2 separate regions of the Homo sapiens genome follow, and region 2 is linked to region 1. The links are contacts of gene promoters, found by promoter capture Hi-C in blood cells and fetal thymus (Javierre and others, 2016). All regions are on one chromosome and are shown on one strand. Each heading gives the region's core, a stretch centred on a gene start or on the middle of the fragment in contact. The rest is flanking DNA. Distances are from core to core; before and after follow the strand shown. Region 1 holds the start of CD68 (CD68 molecule). Region 2 holds the start of TNK1 (tyrosine kinase non receptor 1).

The links. Contacts are between HindIII fragments. The CHiCAGO score rates a contact against its expected background, and 5 or more counts as called.
Region 2: a fragment that was not itself captured here is called in contact with the fragment with the promoter of CD68 in region 1 in 2 of 17 cell types (total CD8 T cells and total B cells); the score reaches 6.3 in total CD8 T cells.

Annotation. Positions count from the first base shown.
Region 1 is chr17:7,578,363-7,582,000 of GRCh38, forward strand. It overlaps CD68 (CD68 molecule), which reads left to right and starts at 1,276. Exons shown (of 6, transcript NM_001251.3): 1 at 1,276-1,364; 2 at 1,448-1,965; 3 at 2,104-2,223; 4 at 2,349-2,421; 5 at 2,534-2,704; 6 at 3,016-3,638. The coding sequence starts at 1,316. The coding sequence ends at 3,149. EIF4A1 (eukaryotic translation initiation factor 4A1) reads left to right here. Exons shown (of 11, transcript NM_001416.4): 11 at 1-644. The coding sequence ends at 124. It overlaps SENP3-EIF4A1 (SENP3-EIF4A1 readthrough (NMD candidate)), which reads left to right. Exons shown (of 22, transcript NR_037926.1): 22 at 1-644. It overlaps MPDU1-AS1 (MPDU1 antisense RNA 1), which reads right to left. Exons shown (of 2, transcript NR_136402.2): 2 at 3,612-3,638. RefSeq lists a silencer at 277-465 and enhancers at 1,941-2,000, 2,101-2,170. The HindIII fragment of the contact is 9,128 bases long and covers 1-3,638 here.
Region 2 is chr17:7,379,172-7,383,095 of GRCh38, forward strand. It overlaps TNK1 (tyrosine kinase non receptor 1), which reads left to right and starts at 1,918. Exons shown (of 13, transcript NM_003985.6): 1 at 1,918-1,943; 2 at 3,665-3,918. The coding sequence starts at 3,756. RefSeq lists an enhancer at 1,436-1,936. The HindIII fragment of the contact is 9,212 bases long and covers 1-3,924 here.

The sequences.
Region 1 (3,638 bases), core at 26-2,525:
TGGCCGTAAAGGTGTGGCTATTAACATGGTGACAGAAGAAGACAAGAGGACTCTTCGAGACATTGAGACCTTCTACAACACCTCCATTGAGGAAATGCCCCTCAATGTTGCTGACCTCATCTGAGGGGCTGTCCTGCCACCCAGCCCCAGCCAGGGCTCAATCTCTGGGGGCTGAGGAGCAGCAGGAGGGGGGAGGGAAGGGAGCCAAGGGATGGACATCTTGTCATTTTTTTTCTTTGAATAAATGTCACTTTTTGAGGCAAAAGAAGGAACCGTGAACATTTTAGACACCCTTTTCTTTGGGGTAGGCTCTTGCCCCAGGCGCCGGCTCTTCTCCCAAAAAAAAAAAAAAAACACTAATCCATTTCCCTAACCTAGTAACCTCCAGATCCCAGAGGCTCTCCTCACCTCAGCTGAGCTCCTTTGAAAGTGATTCAAGGGACTATGTCACTCAGCCTCATTTGCTGGACCAAATCTGGAGGGAGAACCCCTAAAACCCCTAAGTGAGGTTGCCCAGGGGGTTGTCCCCAGGTGGGGGGAAGCAGGGGAGAGAAAATGGTAGCCATTTTTACATTGTTTTGTATAGTATTTATTGATTCAGGAAACAAACACAAAATTCTGAATAAAATGACTTGGAAACTGCCTGTTTGGGCTTCTCATTTCTTACCTCCCCTTCCCTCTCCCACCTGCTACTGGGTGCATCTCTGCTCCCCCCTTCCCCAGCAGATGGTTACCTTTGGGCTGTTGCTTTCTTGTCACCATCTGAGTTCTCAGACGCTGGAAAGCCATGTTCTCGGCTCTGTGAATGACAATGCTGACTGGAGTGCTGCCCCTCTGTAAAGGGCTGGGTGTGGATGGTCACAAGCCCCTCACATGCCTCAGCCAAGAGGAAGTAGTACAGGGGTCAGCCCAGAGGTCCAGGGGAAAGGAGTGGAAACCGATTTCCCCACCAAGGGAGGGGCCTGTACCTCAGCTGTTCCCATAGCTACTTGCCACAACTGCCAAGCAAGTTTCGCTGAGTTTGACACATGGATCCCTGTGGATCAACTGCCCTAGGACTCCGTTTGCACCCATGTGACACTGTTGACTTTGCCCTGATGAAGCAGGGCCAACAGTCCCCTAACTTAATTACAAAAACTAATGACTAAGAGAGAGGTGGCTAGAGCTGAGGCCCCTGAGTCAGGCTGTGGGTGGGATCATCTCCAGTACAGGAAGTGAGACTTTCATTTCCTCCTTTCCAAGAGAGGGCTGAGGGAGCAGGGTTGAGCAACTGGTGCAGACAGCCTAGCTGGACTTTGGGTGAGGCGGTTCAGCCATGAGGCTGGCTGTGCTTTTCTCGGGGGCCCTGCTGGGGCTACTGGCAGGTAAGGAGGAAGGAGGCTGAGGGGAGGGGGCCCCTGGGAGGGAGCCTGCCCTGGGTTGCTAACCATCTCCTCTCTGCCAAAAGCCCAGGGGACAGGGAATGACTGTCCTCACAAAAAATCAGCTACTTTGCTGCCATCCTTCACGGTGACACCCACGGTTACAGAGAGCACTGGAACAACCAGCCACAGGACTACCAAGAGCCACAAAACCACCACTCACAGGACAACCACCACAGGCACCACCAGCCACGGACCCACGACTGCCACTCACAACCCCACCACCACCAGCCATGGAAACGTCACAGTTCATCCAACAAGCAATAGCACTGCCACCAGCCAGGGACCCTCAACTGCCACTCACAGTCCTGCCACCACTAGTCATGGAAATGCCACGGTTCATCCAACAAGCAACAGCACTGCCACCAGCCCAGGATTCACCAGTTCTGCCCACCCAGAACCACCTCCACCCTCTCCGAGTCCTAGCCCAACCTCCAAGGAGACCATTGGAGACTACACGTGGACCAATGGTTCCCAGCCCTGTGTCCACCTCCAAGCCCAGATTCAGATTCGAGTCATGTACACAACCCAGGGTGGAGGAGAGGTAAAGCTAAAACTGGGGGATGAGAGGGGAGGGAGGCAGGACTGGATATAGGCTCAGAGGGAAGAAGGAAGAGGGGACAGGGAACCTTGGCCGGCATCGCATGCAGTCTTGTGACCTTCCAGTCTTTAACTTCCGCAGGCCTGGGGCATCTCTGTACTGAACCCCAACAAAACCAAGGTCCAGGGAAGCTGTGAGGGTGCCCATCCCCACCTGCTTCTCTCATTCCCCTATGGACACCTCAGCTTTGGATTCATGCAGGTATAGCCATGACCTCAGTCTCACCCCTCACTCAGCCTCCCGGCGCCCCTCCCCTCCCAATCCCACACGCTACTCCTTCCTCTGTGGAGAGGGATACCACCTGCGCCTTCCTCTTCGCCCCACAGGACCTCCAGCAGAAGGTTGTCTACCTGAGCTACATGGCGGTGGAGTACAATGTGTCCTTCCCCCACGCAGCACGTAAGTAACCTCCTTCCCTTTCTCATTGCTACCACTAGACGCCAGGGTTCCTGAAAGGACTAAGCTGGGGCCAGGGAGGTGGATAGGATCTGACCCTTCCTCACTCCTCCAGAGTGGACATTCTCGGCTCAGAATGCATCCCTTCGAGATCTCCAAGCACCCCTGGGGCAGAGCTTCAGTTGCAGCAACTCGAGCATCATTCTTTCACCAGCTGTCCACCTCGACCTGCTCTCCCTGAGGCTCCAGGCTGCTCAGCTGCCCCACACAGGGGTCTTTGGGCAAAGTAAGACCTACCTACTCCTTCCCTCCTAGAATCCTCCCACTGCACTGAAAACCCCTTCCCCAGGCCCATAAGCCACTCATCTCTCTTCTTAACCCCCCAAATCTCGCTCTCCCAGCTTGTCATGGCTACAGGGCAGCTTTCTTTCCATCCTCTACAAGACTCTGCCAGTTTCCCCCTTTTATCACTGCTGAGTCACTGCGGTGAGCTCCTCACCAATCTCCTACTCCCCAGCATCCCCCCATTCCCTCCTCCCACCTTTATCCCAACCAGCACGTCACTGCAAATACCTACCTGCCCTATCCTTCCGCCAGGTTTCTCCTGCCCCAGTGACCGGTCCATCTTGCTGCCTCTCATCATCGGCCTGATCCTTCTTGGCCTCCTCGCCCTGGTGCTTATTGCTTTCTGCATCATCCGGAGACGCCCATCCGCCTACCAGGCCCTCTGAGCATTTGCTTCAAACCCCAGGGCACTGAGGGGGTTGGGGTGTGGTGGGGGGGTACCCTTATTTCCTCGACACGCAACTGGCTCAAAGACAATGTTATTTTCCTTCCCTTTCTTGAAGAACAAAAAGAAAGCCGGGCATGACGGCTCATGCCTGTAATCCCAGCACTTTGGGAGGCTGAGGCAGGTGGATCACTGGAGGTCAGGAGTTTGAGACCAGCCTGGCCAACATGGTGAAACCCTGTCTCTACTAAAAATACAATTAGCCAGGTGTGGCGGCGTAATCCCAGCTGGCCTGTAATCCCAGCTACTTGGGAGGCTGAGGCAGAACTGCTTGAACCCAGGAGGTGGAGGTTGCAGTGAGCCGTCATCGCGCCACTAAGCCAAGATCGCGCCACTGCACTCCAGCCTGGGCGACAGAGCCAGACTGTCTCAAATAAATAAATATGAGATAATGCAGTCGGGAGAAGGGAGGGAGAGAATTTTATTAAAT
Region 2 (3,924 bases), core at 998-3,497, 200 kb before region 1:
CTAGGATTACAGGTGTGAGCCACTGTGCCTGGCCAAGTAGAGTAATTTTCATATGAGTATAACAACAACCAAAAAATAAAATTAAAAAACCCTTCCATGTAAGGATTAAACAGCACATCAGATGTAACCAAAGAGAGAATTAGTGAACTGGAAGACAGACTGGAAGAGATTACCTGAATGTATCACCAAGACACAAAGAGATGAAAGATACAGGAGACAGGTTAAAAGACACAGAGTACAGAATGAAAAGGTCTAGAACACTCCTAATCAGAGTTGGCAAAGGAGAGAGCACAGAGGACAGAGGAAAAATAATATCTGGATGGTTTCTGAGAACTTTCCAATATGATAAAATACGATAAAAGATGTGAATTCATACATACAGGAAGTACAACATATTGAGCAGAATAAATAGAATAAATAAACATCTAGATACATTGTGACAAAACTACAAAACACCAATGATATCTTAAAAGCAGGGAGTAAAAAGAGATCATCTACACAACAATGAGGATTAGACTGAGGAGACTTCTTTACAACCAACATGTATCAGGCCTATTATATGCCCACACTGTCCTAGGTACTTAGAACACAAGTATGAACAAGCCAGGCCCAGCCCCTACCCTGTGGAGCTACAGAACCTCTAACAGGGATCGCAGATGTGCAGTAACAATTATAGTGTGATGAGCGATCCTGGTTGGAGGGCAAAAGAATCGGCAAGAAAACAATACCATAGAACAGCATTATGAAGATTTTCCTATCCCACGTAGGATCCACACAGGGACTGGCCCCCAAGCACAGATCCTTGCTGGCAGCCTGAGAGTCACTCGGTCTAACTTGGTTTCAAGGCAACTCCACCAGCCTTTATTAAATAAGGCTCTGGGTCTCTGGGTACTGGCTGCCTGCTCACACTTTCCCTTACAGACATCTGGACCCCTCCCTTACCCCACATTATAAGCAAGGAGGAAGAAGAGGACCCGAGGCTGGGAAACGTGGAGGTGGCAGTTGGGATCAAACATCCTACATGTTTACCAAGACCAGGAGGGCTTTTCCCTCCAAGGGACCCTTGGGACAGCAGCTGCTATGTTCACGCGTCCTTCCTTGGGACAGGGGACAGACTAGATGTCCTAAGACTGGCAGCTTCCTCTCTGGGACCCCTGAGAGAAGCGGAGACAAATGGTCCTCCTCAGGGCCTTCTTCAAGGTCCTGGACTTAGTCCCAGTGGCCACAGGCTAGGTAGCAGTGTGCAGGGCCCTGAGTTCTGCAGAGCTTGCATGGAGAGCAGGCGTTACGCTGGAAGGAAGCCCAGGAGTGTCAGTAATGGGGAAGCGTGCCCTGAGGCATGGAATGCTGCCGGTGATCAACAACAGCTTCAACTGTAGACTCTGTCTAGGCCAGGGCCAACTCTCCGTACCAGCATCAACATCTCTCTGCCCTGGCCCCATTCCAGGGTTCATTAAGTAAAGCCTGCTAGGAAGCTCTGAACCCCCTGCCATGGGGCAGGAACTGTGTCCTATTTAGCCTTATATTCCCTGTGCGTGGACAGGATAGCTCTATCGGGCGCTTATTCATGTAAGAGGTAGGGTCCTGGCTGAGAGGTGAAGGATTTGGCGAGAGGGCATGGGGGACAGAGACAGAGGAGTGAAGTCTGGGGAGGGCTGGGAAGCTATTCGGAGAAGGCTGGAAAGACGTGAAGGAAGACGAGCAGAGGAGAAGGGAAGGGGGCTTCTCACAGTCGGGGCGATCTGGTCTGGAGGAGGGAGGGGCCGCCAGTCGCCCTGGGGACCGTCACCTTGTCCCACTAGGGAACTCGGGGTGCGGCCCTCGCCGGCCCCGGGCCAGCGGCCAGGTCCCCGCCCTCCGCGGGATTTACTCCTGTCCCGCCTCCTCGGATTTAGCCCAGGCAGCCTGGGAGGTTCCGCAGTCGCCGCTTCCGCCTTGACCAGGTGAGGGTCCGGACCGAGCAGGGGGCCCGGGCTGGGGAGAGCCGGCGGAGCAGCCGTCGCTGGGGGCGCGTCCGGGGGGCGCTGGGCCTGTCCTCTTCTCCTGCGTCCTTCCCTCCCGCAGCCGCGCTTCCTCCTGTCTCCCTTCTGCGCTCCCCGCTTCCCACCGAGCGCGCAGGGCCGGGTCCCCCAGGGTCCTGGGCTTTCTCCTTCCCAACCCAACCCTGTTCGCGCCCGGTTCTGAGTCCACCTGCGCGTTTCCAACTAGGCCCAGCCTCGATCCTCTTCTTCCTCCTTGCTTATAATGTAGGGGAAGGGACGGGTCCAGGAGTGTGCTAGGGAAAGTGTGAGCAGGCTGCCAGTACCCAGAGGCCCAGAGCCTTATTTAACAAAGGTTGGTGGAGTTGCCTTGAAGCCAAGTTAGACCGAGTGACTCAGGCTGCCAGCAGGCATCTGTGCCTGGGGCTGAGCTCAGGTAGGTGTGGGACTGTGTACCTGACAGCCTCAGTGGCTCCATAGGCAGCACCTAAGCCTAGCGGCCATCACAAGTGCCTGATTTGATTTCAAATGTTGCTGCCTCCGGTGGAGGAGAGGCAATGACTGTGGACCTCTTTTGGCTTGAGGGGTCCCTATGCCCCCATAGCTCAGGTATGCTGTGTGCACACTGTACCTCGATGTCTGTGTGTTGTGTTCATGTGGACCTTTGTGTCTTAGCCGTGTGGGGCAGTGTATCTAGGTGTTTGGAGGCAGTGAACTGCCATGTCCCATGGATGTGACACGTATGTACAAGGAACATCTCATGGAAGGACACAGATGAGCCTGGGCGTTTTGTGGCCGCATGCTGAAATGTCTCAGCGTTAAGACGACATATATCGGCCGGGCGCAGTGGCTCACGCCTGTAATCCCAGCACTTTGGGTGGCCGAGGCGGGCGGATCACGAGGTCAGGAGTTCAAGACCAGCCTGGCCAATATGGTGAAACCCCATCTCTACTAAAAATACAAAAAATAGCCGGGCATGGTGGCACGCGCCTGTAGTCCCAGCTACTTGGGAGGCTGAGGCAGAAGAATTGCTTGAACCCGGGAGGCGGAGGTTGCAGCGAGCTGAGATCACGCCACTGCATTCCAGCCTAGATGACAGAGCGAGACTCCGTCTCAAAAAAAAAAAAAAAGAGGACATGTATTTGGGAGTCTCGGCCATGTTTTGCAGTATATCTGTAGGTCTCAGTGTGTGTGTGTGGCAGCATGTGGGAGGCAGTGTACCTTCGTGTGTGTGCGTGCTCTACCTACATGTCTGAGGTATGGTGTGGTTGTCATATCTGAGCATCTCCAGTGTGTGTGGTAGGCAAACATGTCTCATGTTGGAGGAAGGGAGATGTCTCATGTTGGAGGAAGGGAGATGTCGTCTCAGGTGTGTATGAGTGAGTTTGTGCCACTGCGTAGCTCAGGTCTAAAAGGGCAGTGTTTCTGGGTGTCCGGGTGTGTGATGTGCCGTGATATTTCAGAGTCAGGATGGTAACATACCTGGAGTCTGTAGTAGGAGCAGGCAGTATGCTAAAATTGCAGGTGTGAGCAGGGCAGGTTACTCAGCGGTGAAGGGACAGAGTACCCGGATGCCTGGGCACGGGGAACATTCTATCTGGGATTTGTGTGCGTGAGTGGCAGGGATCCTGGCTGTCTCTGCTGTGTCCCTGCCTCTGTACCTGAGTGTTTCTAATGACTTGCAGGTGGAGCTGGAGACCTGGTCTCTCTAGGGCCTACCCTGAGCTCACCATCTGAAGGAGAGTGCCATCATCCTTAGGAACTCCTTCTCCAGACATGCTTCCTGAGGCTGGCTCCCTGTGGCTACTGAAGCTGCTCCGGGACATCCAGTTGGCCCAGTTTTACTGGCCCATCCTTGAGGAGCTTAATGTCACTCGGCCAGAGCACTTCGACTTTGTAAAGCCTGAGGACCTGGACGGCATTGGCATGGGCCGGCCTGGTGAGG